4 separate regions of the Homo sapiens genome follow, and regions 2, 3 and 4 are each linked to region 1. Evidence: promoter capture Hi-C in 16 types of primary human blood cells and fetal thymus (Javierre and others, 2016). All regions are on one chromosome and are shown on one strand. The core of a region is centred on a gene start or on the middle of the fragment in contact, and the rest is flanking DNA. Distances in the headings are between cores, read along the strand shown.

What was found. Contacts are between HindIII fragments. The CHiCAGO score rates a contact against its expected background, and 5 or more counts as called.
Region 2: a fragment that was not itself captured here is called in contact with the fragment with the promoter of FAR2-AS1 in region 1 in 2 of 17 cell types (naive B cells and M1 macrophages); the score reaches 7.1 in naive B cells.
Region 3: a contact is called between a fragment that was not itself captured here and the fragment with the promoter of FAR2-AS1 in region 1, in 2 of 17 cell types (naive B cells and M1 macrophages). The highest score is 5.7, in naive B cells.
Region 4: a fragment that was not itself captured here is called in contact with the fragment with the promoter of FAR2-AS1 in region 1 in 1 of 17 cell types (naive CD8 T cells); the score reaches 5.3 in naive CD8 T cells.

The regions. Positions count from the first base shown.
Region 1 is chr12:29,316,001-29,320,798 of GRCh38, forward strand. It overlaps FAR2-AS1 (FAR2 antisense RNA 1), which reads right to left and starts at 1,848. Exons shown (of 7, transcript NR_103860.1): 1 at 1,708-1,848. It overlaps FAR2 (fatty acyl-CoA reductase 2), which reads left to right. Exons shown (of 12, transcript NM_001271783.2): 9 at 841-1,012. The HindIII fragment of the contact is 3,353 bases long and covers 246-3,598 here.
Region 2 is chr12:30,845,853-30,850,650 of GRCh38, forward strand. No RefSeq gene overlaps it. Among named protein-coding and RNA genes, the nearest start is that of LINC00941, 53 kb to the left of the region's middle. RefSeq lists an enhancer at 2,487-3,031. The HindIII fragment of the contact is 1,485 bases long and covers 1,929-3,413 here.
Region 3 is chr12:30,827,377-30,832,174 of GRCh38, forward strand. No RefSeq gene overlaps it. Among named protein-coding and RNA genes, the nearest start is that of LINC00941, 34 kb to the left of the region's middle. The HindIII fragment of the contact is 412 bases long and covers 2,427-2,838 here.
Region 4 is chr12:30,784,010-30,788,807 of GRCh38, forward strand. No RefSeq gene overlaps it. Among named protein-coding and RNA genes, the nearest start is that of LINC00941, 9.3 kb to the right of the region's middle. RefSeq lists an enhancer at 1,480-1,981. The HindIII fragment of the contact is 1,444 bases long and covers 2,074-3,517 here.

The sequences.
Region 1 (4,798 bases), core at 598-3,097:
ATGAACCAGGTGATTCTTGAGACTCTTCTTTGTATAGGATTTATATTTTCAGACAGATTTTAGCTGGTATTTTTTTAAGGAGGGCAATAATCATATTACCATAATAAGTGATATCATCATAATTGAATAATGAGCTTAGGCATATGCTTTGAAAAAAAACCTACATACATTAAATAAAATTGAATTCAAATGAATATCTTTTGGAAACAACTACTGAATTCACAAATGTACATAAAAAGTTCTTAAGCTTAATCTAAGTAATAATATAAAAAGAAAAATACTATTATGAATAAAACTCTGGATACCAGAGTGGACAATTGAGTCTAACATATTCCCAGAGAAGTATTTGAAGTAGACTAACACAAAGAAATCTTGCCTTGAGAATCTTTACAATCTTTTACTTAAACCTTTAATAAAGATTCAAATAAAATGTTAAGAAACTTTCTAAATGGTTCTGAAAGTAATGGTCCAGCCAGGGAAATAAGGTCTCTCGCCTCTGTCTTGGGGCTTTCAGAATAGACTGGATGACCTTAGAATTAAAGGCAGATTCATGTTTTTCTGAACAGTACCTCCTTGTATTGACAAGTGTTTCCCCAATAGTTTGTTTTACAGTAAATGCTTCAACTAAAGAATCCAATTATTAACCCATTCACACTGTTTCAGTTTGCAGATAACCATTTGCCCAGCACAAAAATCTTTATATTGTTCTCAGAAATTGATTCTTGACTCTACACAGCAAATCCTTCGTCTTTATTGTTTTGACCCATTACAAATGCTTTCCACTATGATGGACTTATATTCTCCTTTTCTCCTCTAGCACTTACTTTCTTTTTTCCCCAGGAGTCCAAGTCTTGGCAACCTTTGAAAAAATCCCATTTGAGAGACCTTTCAGGAGGCCAAATGCTAATTTTACCAGCAACAGCTTCACATCACAGTACTGGAATGCGGTCAGCCACCGGGCCCCTGCCATTATCTATGACTGCTATCTGCGGCTCACTGGAAGGAAGCCCAGGTGAGAAGCTGAGTCAATGGCTTTGAGAGTGTCACTGCATGGGAGATTAAGGCCCCAAAATCTTTAGTGCTTCCTTCAGCCGAGGATTAAAGGAGACAACTGAATCTTACCCATATATACAGATTGAACACACCTAATCTGAAAATCCAAAATCTGAAATTCTCCAAAATCCAAAACGTTTTGAGTGCTGACATGATGCCACAAGTGGAAAATTCCACATACCTTACCTCATGTGATGGGTCACAGTCAAAAGACATTCAAAACTGTTTCATACATAAAATTATTTAAAATATTATGTAAGATTACCTTCAGGCTCTGTGTATATGGCTAAGTGTGTATGAAACAGAAATGAATTTTGTGTTTAGACATGGGTCCCATCCCCAAGATAGCTCATTACATATATGCAAATATTCCAAAATCTGAAAACAATCAAAACCCAAAACACTTCTGGCCCAAGTATTTCACATAAAGGATACTCGACCTGTATAAGTTTTGAACAAAGCAGTCATAGTGAGAAGCCACAAAAGACATTAAAAATGTTCCAGCACAATAAAGGAAGGTAAATGTTAAAGAGGTTGATGAATTCAGCAAGTAATCATTCATGCGAAAAGAAAAGCAATTGAGACTCTGTCACTAGGGTTTTCTGAATAGGTAGATAATCTTAAATATACAATAATGATGACAACCTCACTTACTGAGAGTTTACTGTGGCACTCGTGGGGCTAAGGCTGATGCATGATGATCCCATTTTCATTGTCACAGCTACCCAAGGAAGATGTCCTCATCATCCCAATTTTACAAATGGGGAAATAGAAGCTAAGGAAAGAATCTGAATTAGTCTCAAAGGAAGTGACAGGAAGGATGTGGAGAAAGCCGAGTCTCAAAGTCAGTATTCGGAACCAGATTTACTGCCACCTAGAGATGAGTGAAGAAATTAGAGGGAACACAGTGTGCTGATGCTAAGGCAGCTGTCACCACCTAGCTGTGTGACACAGGACATACGCCTTTATCTGTCTCGCTTGAATAATATTATGTGTCAGAGGAGTCATTGTTATAATTGCCTAAGGCAATTCTCGTGATCAAGAATCAGAAGTATGAACAGTATTGCCTTCTGTGCTAGCCCCTTTATAAGGGAGGAAGTCTTCTTCAGCGTGTTTGTCATCTTTATTAGCAGTGCAAATGACTAAAACTTAGCCAATGTAGAGTTTATCTAAATTTTTAAAGACCTCATTTGGAGCTCATAACTCAGTTCTTGAGCAAGGTGAAAAGGAAACATTGTGATTATGGGGAAAATATTTGTATGGGGCTTATTAAATAAAGACAGGAAAAGAAGAAAACCCAAATATTGTAGGCAGAAATGCTAAAGGTTTTAAAATATATCAGGATTGGAAGAGGGCCTGCATAAAGAACAAAGTTCAGTTAGGAAAAAAGAGAAACACAGAAGGAAGAGACACAATAAAAATCTATATGTATCTTGTGAGAAGTCAAACAGTAATATTTGTGGGAAATGGGTTGGTTTGTTGTGTGGTATGTATTTTAGCAATAATCTTTATGGCAGAAAAAGCTGAAATCCTTCTAGACCCTTTCCTGCTCCAGGTGTGCTTGTGTATACTCTCCTATGCTTTTACATCCATATATGGACGTACATAGTTTGCTTTGCAGTAGGGGGGTATGTGTGTATATAAATCAATTGTACATATTTTACAACTTTTTCCACTAATTTTCCATGAAAATCTAAGTCATTCTGCCCGGTGTTGTCTTTTTTTTCTACTGCAAATAGGGCAATGAATATCAGTGTGCATGCCTCTTTGTAGAATGTGCCTGTGTCAGGAGAGGATGCTGAGGAGGGAGACTGCTGGATTGAAGAGTATGTGGAGTTTGTGACTAGTGCCAGGTGACCCTCCCTAAGGAAGAGACTGTCAATTGGCACTACCACAACAGTGTATGAAGGGTACAAAAGTCTTTTTTTTTTCTTTTTCTTTTTTCTTTTTTTTTTGAGATGGAGTCTTGCTTTGTCACCTAGGCTAGAGTGCAGTGGCGAGATCTCAGCGCACTGCAACCTCTGCCTCCTGGGTTCAAGCGATTCTCCTGCCTCAGCCTCTCGAGTAGCTGGGATTACAGGCGCCCGCCACTGTGCCTGGCTAATTTTTGTATTTTTAGCAGAGATGGGGTTTCACGATCTTGACCAGGCTGGTCTCGAACTCCTGACCTCAAGCAAGTCACCCGCCTCGGCCTCCCAAAGTGCTGGGATTACAGGCATGAGCCACCGCGCCCGGCCAAGGGGTACAAAACAGTATGTCTTACCCTCTTAATGGGGGTAAGAATACTTTGTAAAAATCAACTTCTGAATTGTCAAACTCATAAGGAATGACATCTTTTTGTTTTTTTGATTTGCATTCATGATTGCTGGAGGGGCTGGACTTTCATTCATTTATTGGACATTTAAGTTTTCCCCTCTGTGTGCTGCCTGCTTCTGCTCCCTATTTTCCTATTGGGTTGTCCTTATTAATGTATGGGAACATGTGTGTGTGAATACATATTTCATATATTTTCTCCAGGTCTGTTTCTTTTTAGCTTTGACTATAAAGCTTTTTGTAATATGAGTGAAGATACATATAATGCAGGGCTTAGGAACATGGAGTTTGGAGTCAGGCTTATAGGATTTAAATCCTGGCTTCACCAATTTAGCCATTAGAGCCCTAAATTACTTCATCTCTCTAAATCCTAACTTCCTATTCTGTAAAATGGGCACAGTAATCGTAACCTATTTTATATAGTTTAATATGAGTGCTTAGAATATAATAATCCCTATTAATACTAAAGATGTTTAAAATTTTTATGTGGTAAAATGAATCAATCATTGTTTTCCTTCAGCTTTTGCATTTTGGGTATTAAGAAGACCTTCTTGGCTGGGTGTGGTGGCTCACACCTGTAACCCCAGCAATTTTGGAGGCTGAGGAAGGAGTATCACTTAAGCCCAGGACTTCAAGACCAGACTAGGCAACATAGTGAGACCCCATCACTACAAAAATAAAATTTAAAAACGTTGTCCAGGCATGGTGGCATGTGCCTGTAGTCCCAGCTACTCAGGAGTCTGAGGCAGAAGATTGCTTGAACCCAGGAGGTCAAGGCTGCAGTGAGTCATGATTGAGCCACTGCACTACAGCCTGGGCAATAAAGCGAGACCCTGTCTCAGACAAACAATAAAGACCTTCTCTATCTGGGAGTAATACAAGTATATTTTCTAAAACATATCATTAGGTTGATATAGTTCTGTACATCCAATGATATCATGTCCAACCGTTATTTTTAACAATTAAAATAAATGTATTGAAATCATATCAATTGCATCAGAGTTGGAGAATGACTAAAGATTTAGATAATAGTAAAGTGGAACCCTATTATGGTGCTTATATCAGGCACAATGATGTCTACCTCATGCCTAAGAAATTTCCTATGATACAGTAAGAGAAATACCTCATGAGTCATTAAGTACATGGGCATTAACTTTGACCAGAAGTAAGACCAAATCCCCACAATAGCATCATAATTACTGAGCCAACTATAGTAATCACTACTGCCAAGACTGGTTAACTACAAATCAAGTGCTTTACAGGCCAAAAGTGACTTGTAGCTAAAAGACCTAGGTTGGGGATTAGCTATGGGACCTTGAGCATAATCTCTCTGTAAAATGGAGATACATAATATACATCCTGACTATCTTACAGCCATATTGTTAGGATCAAGTAAGATTGTATATGAAAGTTTTTTGTAAATTGTTATAAA
Region 2 (4,798 bases), core at 1,421-3,920, 1.5 Mb after region 1:
AACCTCAGGACTTTGAAGAAATAAGTGACTCATTTTCTTTTACACAAGGGCATGGTGTTTTTACAAAACCCGTGCAAGCATTTTAAGATCAACCCAGGTCTTTTAGCAATCACATCGGGCAGGCCCAGGGAGAACAGTTCCCCCAAATTAGAAAAGCAACTTCCAGGGGAACCATCTGAGGATCCCCCTTATTTTGGGCCCCTTCAAGTTCCCTTCTCATTACAAGACCTTAAGCAAATAAAGCGAAACTTAGGCCGATTTTCTAACGACACTGATAGGTATATAGAAGCTTTCCAAAATTTAACTCAGGTGTTTCACCTCACATGGAGGGATGTTATGCTGCTCCTAAACCATACCCTCACAGCAGCTGAAAAGCAGGCAATTCTGCAAGCAGCAGAGATTTCGGGGATGAGCAATATATCTCCTATAATATACCAAAAGGGAAGAACGCAGATAGGGAAAGCGAAAAAATCGTGTAGACTCCTTTCCCACTAGGAAGGGAAGCAGTTCTGGTAAACAACCCCGATTGGGACCCCAATAACTCAAGAGATGAATGGAAAAGGAGGCACATTTTAAGATGTATATTAAAGGGCCTATGGAAGACCAGGGCCAAACCTCTCAATTACGCTAAACTGTCTAGGATAAACCAAAAGCCAGATGAGAATCCTCTAGCCTTTACGGAAAGGCTAAGAGAGGCACTAATAAAGTACACCTCTTTATACCCTGATTCAGTCGAGGGACAGCTCATTCTAAAGGACACGTTTATTACACAGGCAGCTCCCGATATTAAAAGGAATACAAAAGCAGGCTATAAGACCAGATAGCACCTTAGAGAACCTCCTGAAGGTAGCCACTTTGGTCTTTTGTAACAGGAACCAGGAGGAGGCCCAAAAGAAAGAGAGAAAGCTCAAGAGAAGGACAGAGGCTCTAGCAGCTGCTTTGCAGGTTTGCAAAATCCAGGATCCCCAAGGTGCATTCGCTAGTTGCTATTGGTGCGGCAGCCCAGGGCATTTTAAAAAGGAACCCCCAGGAAGCAAGACAAAGCCACCTCAACCCTGTCCAGGCTGTGGCAGAGACCACTGAAGATGGAACTGCCCCCAGAGATGGAGGCCACTGGGTTCAGGACCAGTCTCACAGATGGTCCCGCAGGACTGATGGGTCCTGGGGCTCAAACCCTGGCTTCAGTGGCTCAAACTGCCATTATAGCACAGGAGCCCCGGCTAATTCTGGAAATTAAAGGAAGGAAAGTAGACCTCCTTCTAAACATTAGAGCCAGTCTCTCCCTTTTCTCCTCTCTAATCCAGGCCTCTCCTCTTCCCATAGTACGACCGTAAGGGGTGTCTCAGGAAAAACTCTAATCCAATATTTTTCTCAACCATAGTTGTAGTTAGGAGGACCTATTTACACATGCTTCCAAGTCATAATAACTCTACTAGTCAGAAAAGCCTCCAAGTTAACCCTAGGAAATAATTTAACTGTTTACACTTCACATAATGTGTGAGGATTACTGTCCTCTAGGGGGAGCTCTTAGCTAACAAACAGCTGGTAAAGCAAGAAGTACATAAGGCAGGATAAGCAGTCGTCACTCTTAACGTCTCTCCCCAGGCACAAGTGCTGAATTAGCTGAGCTAATAGCTCTTACAAGAGCACTTAAATTAAGCAAGGGGAAGGTAGCTGCCATTTATACTAACTCCAAGTATGCTTTCTTAACTCTCCATACTCATGCTGCGATTCAAAAGGAAAGGCATTTTCTTACCACTAATGAATCTCCTATAAAATATTGCCAGGAAATTGGCAGGTTATTATCCTCAGTTTTTCTTCCACAAAAAATAGCAGTCATGCGTTATAGGGGACATCAAAAGGAAACAGATAAGGTAGCCAAAGGAAATAGAATGGCTAATCAGGCAAAGCTAAGTCAGAGGCAAGGAAGCTTTAAGGCATTAATGCACTTCAAGCCCTTCTAATCTAGGAAGGCTCCAAAAAAGAAATTAAACATCAGTATTCCCCTACAGAAATAAAATAGGATCACCTTTATTTAACCCAGGAAATTTGGTATTAGTACAAACTCTCATCTCTGTCTCCTTCCCTAAGCCAAGCTGGGAAGGGCCCTACACTGTTCTTCTTTCAACCCCCTCGGCAGTAAAAGTTACAGGAATCGACTTCTAAATACATCACACTCAAGTCAAAGCCTGAAGAGCTGAGGGAGCAGCCCCTAACAGCCCAGAGAAATATCCTGAATATCAATGCGGAGAAAGAGATCTTTTTCTTTTTCTTGTTGTTGTTGTTGTTGTTCTTGTTGTTGTTGTTGTTTTTGAGACGGAGGCTCCCTGTCGCCCAGGCTGGAGTGCAGTGGCGCGATCTCCGCTCACTGCAGGCTCCGCCCCACGGTTCACGCCATTCTCCTGCCTCAGCCTCCGGAGTACCTGGGACCACAGGCGCCCATCACCACGCCCGGCTAATTTTTTTTTTTGTATTTTTAGTACAGACGGGGTTTCACCGTGTTAGCCAGGATGGTCTCGATCTCCTGACCTCGTGATCCGCCCGCCTTGGCCTCCCAAAGTGCTGGGATTACAGGCGCGAGCCACCGCGCCGGGCCAGAAAGAGAAGATTTTAAGCTGAAAATCATAAAAGATAAGTAACTGAGTGAGGGCTACTCATCTTACTCAGTCCCACTCCTGCCTCACCAGATACTTTTTGCTATTTCTACCCTTTACTCTCAAAGTTCACCACCAAATATTAAAACTTCTTTTTAAAGCATATTTGCAGGCAGATTTTAATTATTCATAGAATCGCATTTGTAACTTTGTAGCTCCCCAAAGAGAAATGTTATATCTTGGTAAGTAAAGTTTTAAATGGAAATTATTCACTATGCCACTCTTGTAAGAACTGTTATACTCACGCTACTATTTACAATAGAACTACACACTGTAGCACCCAAGATGTGGAATTCTGGTTGTAAAATTCTAATTGCTGTAATATTTTGCCTAATTATCAACCTTATAACAGGATTGATAGTTGCAGGAAAGATTTAGTCAAAATTGTGTCGCTTATAGCAGGAGTAATAGTTGTGGATAAGAAGCAAGGATGAAAGTTTTACTATCATTACGTTTAATAGGACTTTTTCTGAAGGTTGGTAATATAATGTGCTCTAAGCTATAAAGAGAAGATTATAAAGGAAGATTTTATGTAAGAAAAGATTTTCATTGGTAAATACTTGTCCTAAAAGGAAATGACTGGTTGTTTAAAGGATGAATGCTTAGGGCAAGTCAGAAAGTTTAAGTATGTTGTAAGAGGGTCTGTGAAAGTCATGAAATTATTAAAGGAAAGGAATTGTCAAGATTAACATTAAAGTTATTTTAGCCACCCACTAATGTATTTCTCCCAAGCATATTGCAAGTTAGGAAAATGGCCTAAGCTTAAAGTTATTCTCTAATGGCAAGTCAAAGGGGAAATGTATGGTTTTCTCAAGGAAAATGTTTCTTTTATATTAATGTTTCTGGTAATGTACAGCGAGATACTGGTATTGCAATCCATGGTGTAACTAATAGGTATGAAACTCAGGGTCTATAGGACCCCCACTCACGGTGGTAATCTTAATACTCACATTCTAACCCTATATTTTAAATTTTCTTATAAAATTTATCTCTTTTCACCTGGAAGCAATCAAACTCCAAACGGTGCTGCGAGCAAAGCCACACGTGTTTGAAATGCTTGTAAAGAAATAGCACTTGAGCATCAGTTTATTTAGTAAGGCCATTTTTACTTCTTGCAGAAAGGGTACACTCGCCAGCAGTTTTGCCAGGAGAGTACACTGAACAAAGGAGACAGGGTCATTTATAACCTGACGCGTCCACCCTACTGCTGTGTCCAGTTTCCAATAGCTGGAATGGGACCTCACATTCTGTATTTGTCCCGATTGGCTAGCAACTTAGAACTTTTTAAAAGAGGCAAAGGTAGAGGAGAACAAAAGAAGGAGGAAGTAACTTGTGGAATGCTGGGAAAGGTAAAAACACTTTTAAATAAGGAAGAGGAACAGACTATGATCTAATGCTTGCTTGGACCAGTATAAGCATGCCAGGGCAAATATTTAGGCTAAATTGTGGGAGCTAAGAACATAAATTACATTGATTTCTTTATTATGGCTAGCAGATATTTAAGAATGTTAGCACAGGTCTTTGAATAAATTTTGCTTTTAAGAGAAGTTACTATTTATTTCTTATTAGACGGGGCGGAAAGTCTTTGAAGAGGAACCTCTACTTTACTTTTTACACATGGTCACGCCATTCTTCCAAGAACCCTTAGATAAACCTCAGGAGAAGGCACAACTGCTGTTCCCCACACAATACCCCTTTTCAGCAGGAAGTAGCCAGAAAGAATCGCCATCCAACACCCCCTGACAGCAGTTAGGTTTGCTTCTCTTGAGCGGGGGAATGATACAGGAGTTACTAAGAAATAATTTTTAGGCAGATAGAAAGGGTAAAAGGAATTCTCGGTAAGGCTTTTTCTTTTAATAAAAGCAACCCCAGACCTTTTCTTTTCTTTTTGAGACAGTCTCACTCTGTCGCCCAGGCTGGAGTGCAATGGTGCAATCTGGGCTCACTGTAACCTCTGCCTCCCTGGTTCAAGTGATTCTCCTGTCTCAGCCTCCCATGTAGCTAGGATTATAGGTGCCCGCCACCAAGCCTGGCTAATTTTTTTTTTTGTATTTTTAGTAGAGATGGGGTTTCACCATGTTAGCCAGGCTGATCTCAAACTCCTGACCTCAAGTGATCCGCCTACCTCAGCCTCCCAAAGTGCT
Region 3 (4,798 bases), core at 1,383-3,882, 1.5 Mb after region 1:
GTTTGGTGAGGAGACATCTGTGGCACCAAAAGAAGATAGCTCAGGCAGATCCTGCAGTTGCTGATTCTTCAGGATCCTGGGAAGAGTTCCTACTCAGCAGTATTTCCTAGATCCACCTTATGACATTACCGACCTTGCTAAGGCTCTCGCCTGCCCAGGAAGAGTGGGCAGCCCTAGTGAGGGGCCGTTAGGGCCAGGGGTAGGAGGTACCAGCAGTTGGAGACAGGGAAGACTGACTGATCTCTCGGGGATTTGTCCCTCATCCTGGGGACCATCTATCCTGCTGGGTGGTGGCTGGCAGCCTGTCCAAATGTATGAGCCACCAGAGGGTCAAGTAGACGCAGGGCAGGACCGTCTTCTGGGAGATGTGTCCCCCTAAATTCTTCTGTCACTTCAGACATTCCAGGTAGAAGGAGGCCCTTTGACCTGCAAAGCCAGCCAGAGAACCAGGAACAGGGCAGGGAAAGAGCATGCTAGCCTGAGACGGCTCACACCCAGCTGGGGCGTGAGGAGCAATGTCTGTGGCCCCAGGCACACCTCCTTTCTCCACCCTGTCACCTTATCTCTGAGACATACTGTGCAGCATATGTCCAAGGCCCATCTGGGCACATCCTGCCTTTGGAATTCTGTTTCGCCACTTTGAAAATCTGCCCAGCCCACTTTGGGGAGGTTGTTTGAGTCAGGTTTCCATGATCTCTCAATCAACCCTCAGCACTGACCGGTGTCCCCTCAGAGGGGACCACTGGCCACATCTGGAGAGCAATGTGTGTGTTTAATAGTGAGGCAGAGCAGAGGGAGCCCGTCTTCAGGGATTGCCAGATGTCTCTCTTGTCCTCTTCTGGGGGTGTCAATTGTTGATTTTCATCACCCCGGTAGGAGAGCCTGGAACACAGAACTCTTGGGGCTCGTTCCTGGAGGCTGAGAAATGCCACTGCGTAGGGACAGCTGCCACCCCCAGAAAGCAGTTTGCTCTTTTCCTTAGTGAAGAGATCCTCCCCCTGCCCCCCCATATTGTGCTTACATACAGGTTGATGCATTTCCCTCCCAGGAAATTCCACCGTGCCCCCGGCATCACAGATGTCTCCAGACCTGCTGGTTGGGAGTTTCCAGCTCCTCATCCACAGCCTGTCCTATGAACTTGCATTTCAGATTTAGGACAGTGAAGGCAGTCTCAGGTCAAAGGTGTCAAGAGAGTTGAAAACATTCTAGGCCCTTTAGGTTCTTTCAGGGAAAGGCCTCGGCTCCTGTGTTTGCATGTGTTGCTGCTATGTGCCACAGCTGCTCTCCAACTTTAACCCAGACTTATCAGCCACCCCCCATTTCTCCCTGCCCTGCCAACCTCTTCATCACCAAGGGCACATAAGCAGCTGCCTACAACAAGCATACAATCATTCAGTCAGCAACTAGATGCACTGTAAGGAATCTTGGGAGGTATTAAGTCAATGGCATCCAGGTCTTTTGATGGTGACTCACAGTGAGAATATATTTGACACATTCCCATCACGCACGGATGCACCTAATGGAATCTTGCATTTCAGTATCTCAGCTGGAGCCAGCCAGGCCAAGAGGTATTCCGTCCAGGGAATCTCCCTGACATGTTTTCCTTGGATGCCATTCTCTACTCTTGACCATGTTGCTGGCAGTTTCTTGGGTCATTTCTCCATGTCGGTGGATGGATTATTGTGCAGCTAAATTTCCAGTGTGAATACATTGCACACTGGTAAGTTCTAGTCTACTTCAGTCTGTTCTCATTCATTAAAATATTGATTTCACAATCCCTAGTGTGTCGGCCTGCAGTCTGAGAGGCACAGTTGCCTTTTAACCTCCTTTTGCAGATGAAGCCATCAACTTGCTGGTCCCTGGTGCAACCCCCACCCTGAGGAGAGACACTGCTGCCTTGATCTTCTGTGAATCCACCCTTGTTCCTGGCACAGTGACTTTGAGTCTTTACAGACGTGCAACAGCCTTTGTTGAGTGAGACCTCACATTCTTATGCCTCCAAGCCTTGCTCTCATTCTCAACTAGTCAAGCCCTCCCTATTATATTTCCTCTTAGACAAGTCACCCCTACTCTTGCACTTCCAGCTGTTTGACCTTGTGCATCGTACATGTTAAGCTCATCCTGCCCTCAACCTTCTCTGAATGGCTGTACCCCTCAGGGTTTGTACCACCCTGTGGGCAATTAGTTAGAGCTCTCCATGTTATCTTCCTCTTCTGAGACCCTCTTAGCTTCCTAACTAGTTTGGAAAACCTCCTTGAGTATGGGGACTGGTTTATTCACAACCTATCAGAGTGCCTGCATGCACCAGGCACTCAAGAAGAGCCAAAATGGGTTAAAGCATACACTTTTCCTGACTTCTAGGATAGGTGGTTGTGCATGAGTTTGTATTCCCCAAAAATCAATTTAGGGAATGTCATCTCTTAAGAAGCTTCCAATGTTTCTTTTGGTTTTGTGTTGACTGTGTTTCATTTTGTCAGGAACATGAAGGTCTATCACCCCCACCATCCTATTTTGCTGATGGGGACATGAAGGCACAGGGTGGTTGATGGATTTGTCAAGAGCTCCTTGTCTCTACTATTTCCATGCTTTTCCTTATTCACTAGATTCTTCTTTCTTCATCAGGGGGACAGGAGACACTTCTGCTACTCCTCCAACCCAATTCTGGACCAGAAAGCTCTGGACCCCAGGAAGCCACATGCTGTGCTAGCTTGTCTGGAGCCTTTCCCCCCAACCCCCTGAGGGGCCCGGGGCCTCCCTCCCTTCACCTCCAGCCACACCTTTCCTTTCTTCACAAGCCTAAAAAGCTAGTCCTTCCTCAATATAAAGTACTTTCAGGAAAGCTTCTAAAAACAGTGTGTCTTTAATGTTTTTTAATGTAACCCACTGTCATCAAGGCATTTTACAAGGAGACTTTCTAGATACACACACATATTGGCAATGAACCAAATGTTTCACCACATAATACTAACATTTGTGACTTTTGATGCACTCTGATATTTCCTATTGTGCTACACTGTGCAATTCTTTTAAAGGGCTGACCAAATTGATGTCACGACCTCCTAATGGATCTAGGTCTGCAGTTTAAACACTCTACTCCAAAAATTCCAGCAAGAACAAAAATCTCAGCCCTAGATTTGCCAACAGTGTCCTTTTCTGGGACTTTATTATAAGGCTTTGCATAAAAAATTTGTTAATTGTTAATATATGGATGTGTGCACTGAGTCTCACTGGAAAACATATTGATGACTATTGGTTACAGCCTAAAAAGAATGCTTGAAAGTTTTCCTGGTGAGGAAAGGCCAAGCTAAAAAAGGGAGTCGTGTGTGTGTGTGTGTGTGTGTGTGTGTGTGTGTGTGTGTGTGTGAGAGAGAGAGAGAGAGAGAGATATGGGTGTGGTCCCATCCCCCTAATGAGATGCCACATGCTGTGCAGATGTTTTATAATATTTGATCTCCTCTTCTTCCCAAAATCATGTCCAGAGGAGAAATTCCATGGATCTGCCCCTGCCTCCCCCAGACCCTTCCCCAAACCTTGGCTGGCCTGGGCAGAGGACTGCAGAGCTCACATCTCTGTGGGGAACAGGCTGGACTCCCTGTGGGACTCAGGGTCTTCACTCACCCTTACTTCACATGTCTCCTCCTGAGACCCCTTGTCCTGACACACTACAGGTCTCTGGCTGTCTCAGGAGTGGCACGTAAAATGTCCGAGATCCAGACAAAAAATCAGAGACTGCCAACCCTCCTGCCCTTCCCTCAGCAAGTAAGGCATCACATACACATGCAGGCATGCACACGAGCACACAGGCACACATGCACATGTGCACACCAACACACTTGCTGTGGCCTTTTTCCTCCTAAAATCACTGAGGAAGCCATGGAGCCACAAAAGTGTTAAGATTAGGGTGAGGGTTTTACGTGGGAGAAGGGTGTCTGATTTGGATCCAAGAAGATCTGAGTTCTGACCCCCACTCACTCTAGCCCAAATCACTTAGCCCACCCTATGCCTCAGTTTCCCTTTCTATGAAATTGGGTTAACACATGCCCTGCCTGACTCAAAAGCTTCTTGTGAGTCACAAATATAGTAACAGATGAGATGATGCTTTGAGTATGCAAAGAACCAACTTGAAAGGAGGGTCCTGGGCCATACGATATAGGGCAGTGTGGCCCTAGAGAGAAGGCTGTCCCTCCCCTCCATTGTAGACAGCTGGGCCTTTGGGCCTTTGTTTGGCACAGCTGAGAAGTTCCTGATATCTTCTTCTGATAGTGTCTTTGAGCAAAGGATAGTGAGCCTGAGGCCCTGCTGAGCCTGAATCCCACCTGAGCTCCAGATCTTCCTATGCCAGGATGTGCCTTGGGAGGTAACACTTTCCCCACTGGGATGGGGGCTTTTGCTCACCTAGTCACAACTTCTTGAGGTGTGAGCTAAGTGTTCTTCCTTTTCCTAGCAGTGCTCAGCTCAGTACCTCCCTCCATCTTTCTTTCTATAGACCCTGCATGCTGGGGGCCACTTTATCCTCAAGCACCTGAGGGTACCAGGAAAAGATCCTGGCTTTGAGACACTCAGACAGGGGAGGGGCAGAGCTCTCTCGGGGCTACCCACCTGTATTTGTCTGTCCTTGTATTGCTATAAAGGGATACCTAAGACTGGGTAATTTATAAAGAAGAGAGGTTTCATTGGCTCACAGTTCTGTGGGCTGTAGAGGAAGCATGATGCTGACATCTGCTTGGCTTCCAGGGAGGCCTCAGGAAACTTACAATCATGTTAGTAGATGAAGGGGGAGCAGACATGTCACATGGCC
Region 4 (4,798 bases), core at 1,546-4,045, 1.5 Mb after region 1:
TATTGGAAAAGGTATTTAGGCAGATTTTCTGATCACTTGGTAGTGAAAAGAAAGAAATATAAATATAAGAAATAAAATCCTAGACATCTTAGATCATTTAATGGCTAAACACATCTTCAGTCTTTAAAGTCCATGACATCATTGTTTGTTGCAGTATATAACAGTTAATGTTCATTGTAATAATACTAAATGATCCATCAACAAAAATCCAGATGACAGTAAACAAATTTTTGACAGAGCAGGAGCATCACCATCTTGGACAAGCCCCTCATTCTAAAGTTCACCTTAATAAAAAAAAAACGCCTAAATCCAAAGGGTATCAGCCTAATGGCTAAGGTCAGCATAAACCACAATAACCACAAATAACATCTCCAACCAGAAACATTCCAAACTCCTCCCCAATCAGAGACTTGCCAGCCCCGAGATAACCCCCCGCCAGCCAGGAAGATGCCAGCTCCGAGATAACCCCACTCCAAGCCAGAAAGATGTCTGCCCCAAGATAAACTCCCCTCCTCCCAGAGACATTCCAACCCCACCATAAAACTTGTCCCTCACACAGAAACATTCCAAGCTTCTAATAAGCCCCCTTACCCTAAAACCAATATGTTCTCTTAGTCTGTAAGAGAAAGTGCTCCTAACCAAAGTCAGCCAGAAGCCCCTCTCAGGTTTTATCAAAAGTAAACCTGTCTTTACTGTCAAACCACATTTCGTGTCTCTTTCCTGTTTCTTTAACTCTTACAATTTTGTTTTAGGGAGATTTCCATTAACAAGTAAAAATAAAATTTATGCTGAAAGAGGCCATCTCTGGCTGGCTGTATTTTCTTTTTAGACCTTGAATTGGTGTGAAGAGTCATAAGGGTTTGCTAAAGGAGGAGTGAGAAAGTGGGGAGGGTGTGAGCTCCATAATCAGGAATAAAAACCGGGGGTACAAGACCAGGGCAGAAAGTCATTTTAAAATTCCAGAACTTCTGACACATCTTCATATTGGTTATCATTTGTTATCTCCTTCCTATTTTCCTTGGAAGCAGAAGGGCCTGTCTACATATATTCTTGTCTTCCCAAGCAGCAAGGAAGTGGGAAGTTGAGAAAGCTATTTCCTCTCCACACTTTTTCAGGCATATTAAGAATAAGAGAACCCTGAAGGGTATAGTGGCTGGCTAGGTAATCGAAGAGAAAAAAGTAAGTCCTATTTCCTTAGCTCTGCAGCAAAGAAAGAAAGAACTTTGACATCAATCTTCATATGAAGAAAAGGTCATTAAGCTCAGTAGATTAAAAATCTGAAATGATTCTTTAACTGTATCAAACATAAAAATCACCTGGAGGGCTTGATAAAACAGAGATTGTTAATCCCTACTTCAAGAGTCTATGATTTAGTGGGTCTGAATAGAGCCTGTGAACCAAAAAGTGGCTGAGGCAGATCTCAATCGAGTTAGAGGTTTGTTTTGCCAAGGTTGAGGATGTGGCCAGGGAAAAAGAAACACAAGTTACAGTAGAATCTGCGGCCTGTACTTTTTCCAAAGAGGGTTTTGAGGACTTCAATATTTAAAGAGGAAAGAGCAGGTAGAAGAGGAAGGAGAAAAAAAAAGAGGCTGGGTGTAGGCAGTAACATGTTTACATTCTTGTGAGGCTTCTATTAGCCCTTAAAAACTACTCACTGAATCCACATTTTACATGTGAAAAGAGAGTGGTGGGGTTAAAGTCAATTATGCATTCTTCTCATGCTGCGTATATCTACATTTTACATAAGATAAAGTAAGCATAGAGTAGAGGAAGAACTCAATTATGCATTTGTTTGGGGTGGGTGGAGGAATTTCTAGTCTTATGTTTGGCCCTTACCTGTGAAAATAAGCTGTTAATTTGCATTGTCAGGGTAAGATTCAACAGCACTCTATTTTAGGGCAAGTTTATAGGAGGGATATGTATTCTGAAAGATGTGGAGTCCACGAGGAATTTCCTTGTGAGCAATTTGTGAGGGAGGACCCCTGGGAAGATATGTGACCTTCTATTTTGCAGCTATTTGGTTGGGAACAAAAAGGAAGGCAGTTTGATTGCTTTTGTGTGACTCAGTTCCCAAGCTTCACTTTCCCTTTGGCATAGTGAGTTCGGGGTCCCGAGATTTTTATTTTCCATTCACAGCCCTGAGAATTTGCATTTCTAATAAGTTGCTAGGTGATGCAGATAATGTGGGTCCAGGGACCAGATTTTGGGAACCACAGCAGGTATGGTTCCCAGTCCTGACTAATCATCAGAATCACCTGTGATGTTAAAAACAAAACAAGACAAAAAAAGAAAAACAAACAAACAAACAAAAAAACCAGATTCCCAAGAGCCTCATGCCAGAAGCCACCAATTTGAATCTTCAGAAGTGGAGCCACCGGGAACCTGTTTATTTGATAAAGCTCCCCATTAGATCCTGGCGTTCAGCAGATGCAGAGTTCCACAGCCCCAGAGTACTCAGGATTATGCTAAACATTTAGTCAGTGTCTAAGAAAGCCTTGATTGATGGGCTGATTTAGATCCGGAGGCACTTTCAGCAGTAAAATGTGAATCCTTTTGTATGCTAAGTTTTTATTTAATTTGTGATGATGATATTCTTTGGAGAAGATCTGTACTGGTCTCTTAGCTACATAAAAATGAGCACTTTTGTAAAGGAAGTTCTCACAATTCTAATAGACAAATTAAAAAACTCTAGCACAACCATGTAAATCATCAGAATATTTCCATAGCAATAGCACAAAAACTTAAAAAAAAATAAGGAGTCCCACTTTGGGAGGCCGAGGCGGGTGGATCACGAGGTCAAGAGATCGAGACCATCCCGGCTAAAACGGTGAAACCCCGTCTCTACTAAAAATACAAAAAAATTAGCCGGGCGTAGTGGCGGGCGCCTGTAGTCCCAGCTACTTGGGAGGCTGAGGCAGGAGAATGGCGTGAACCCGGGAGGCGGAGCTTGCAGTGAGCCGAGATCCCGCCACTGCACTCCAGCCTGGGCGACAGAGCGAGACTCCGTCTCAAAAAAAAAAATAAATAAATTTAAAAAAAAAAAAAAAGATAATAATAATAATAAAAAATAAGGAGTCCAAATGGAATTATCCTGAGATTCTGTCAGATTTATCCTTTAGAAATTAATAGTTGCCTTTTATCAGAATTTCCTGGCAATGTAACTAGATTGGTGGCTCATATGCTTATCAAAATTTAGTAGGTTAGATTTTCCAGGTAACATTACTTTCTTTCCTGATATTCTTCATAGGCTGGTTTTTACAACATATTTCTCCTGGTAACTAACTGTCTATTTAGCAGAGATTAAAAGCAGAACAATGTTCTTATTTTTTCAAGTATTTTATTTCATAAAAAGGAGAGTTGTCACTTCAATAATCTCTGACTAAATTAGGAGTTGGATAATATGGGTCTAAACTGTGTAATTTCATCTTTTCTTCATTTCCATAATGGTTCTAGGTCACATTTCTTACTAACAAACTTCTAAATTTTGTGCAACCTACTTAACTGAAATGAACCATTAAGCTTTGGCTTGTTACACATTTGCACAAATGAAGAAATGGCTTGTGAGCTTAACTCTAAATTGTGGTTCATTTAGAGAAGTGGTTACTGTATAATTTGTAGATTGGGTACTGAACTCAGTATTTTTGAAATTAGATAATAGAGAGCTAATAGTGACCCAAATGGAAAAACACACCTTATGTTCACTAATGAAATGTAAAATAGAATTCATCATTCTCCATGTGATGACAAAGAGCACAAAAGCAATGTGAAAATTAACTTAATTGGAAATATTGTAAAATTATTTTCAATATCATACGTTAAATTAAGGCGTTGCTTTGATTGCTAAGTAGATAATAGAAAAAGCCGAAGTGGTAAGCCTTGTTAGAATTTGTGCAAATGCTTTACAAATTGCTGATTTTCTAGTACCATCACAACATTTAATAGTGGTACATTTAATAGAAAGGCAGTTCAAGTTGAAATAGATGACAGTTAAGTAGATGTTTTGAACAAGTTGTTCAATAACTTCTCAAACTAAATTTCATCTTCTGTATCCAGAGAGCTAAAAATATATTCCCTAGGATCTAGCACTTTCCTTACACATAGTTGGTAGTCAGTAAACACTTGTCAAAAGTAAGGGAACAGATGAATACTACAAGATAATGTAGTGGAGTCTAAGCTGGTATTGCTCACTGCAGGACAGTCAATAAGTCACGAGACAAGGTGTTGGGGCAAGAGGGCAATAACTCAGTTTATCTGCTCAACCGAGAAGATGATGGACTAATGTCCTAAAGAACTGTCTTAAGGCAATGTGCATTTCCGGTCCCTTTATTGTTAAGGGAAGAGGGTAGAAGGAGATGGAGTTCAAGAGGTGACTGATGGTTATAGGCATCTGGGCAGCAGAGAGCATCTGAGAGGGAGTTGGAAAACTTCTTTGTCCTTGGTCAGGTCACAATGCTCCTATAAATCTTTAATTATATATTTCTTATTATTATTTTATTTTTTCATATACCGAGTGAAAGCTAGGATCCCATAAATCTTTAAAATAACATTGTTCCTTGTATGTACACACTCCTTACCTCCTTGGAGGTTAGTTTTGGGAAGGAACTAGCATCCTATTATCCTTGCTTTAAAGTTAAACTACAAACTAAATTCCTTCCATCATATCATTTTCTTGGCCTTCATGCAGAGATAATAAAAATTAGTTAATCTAAAAGGTACCACCTGGAGGGGGAAGGGGGGTGTTAGGAGCAAAATGGAGTTTGTTGAGCTAGGCCTCCTTTTCACTGTTACAAAGATGCTA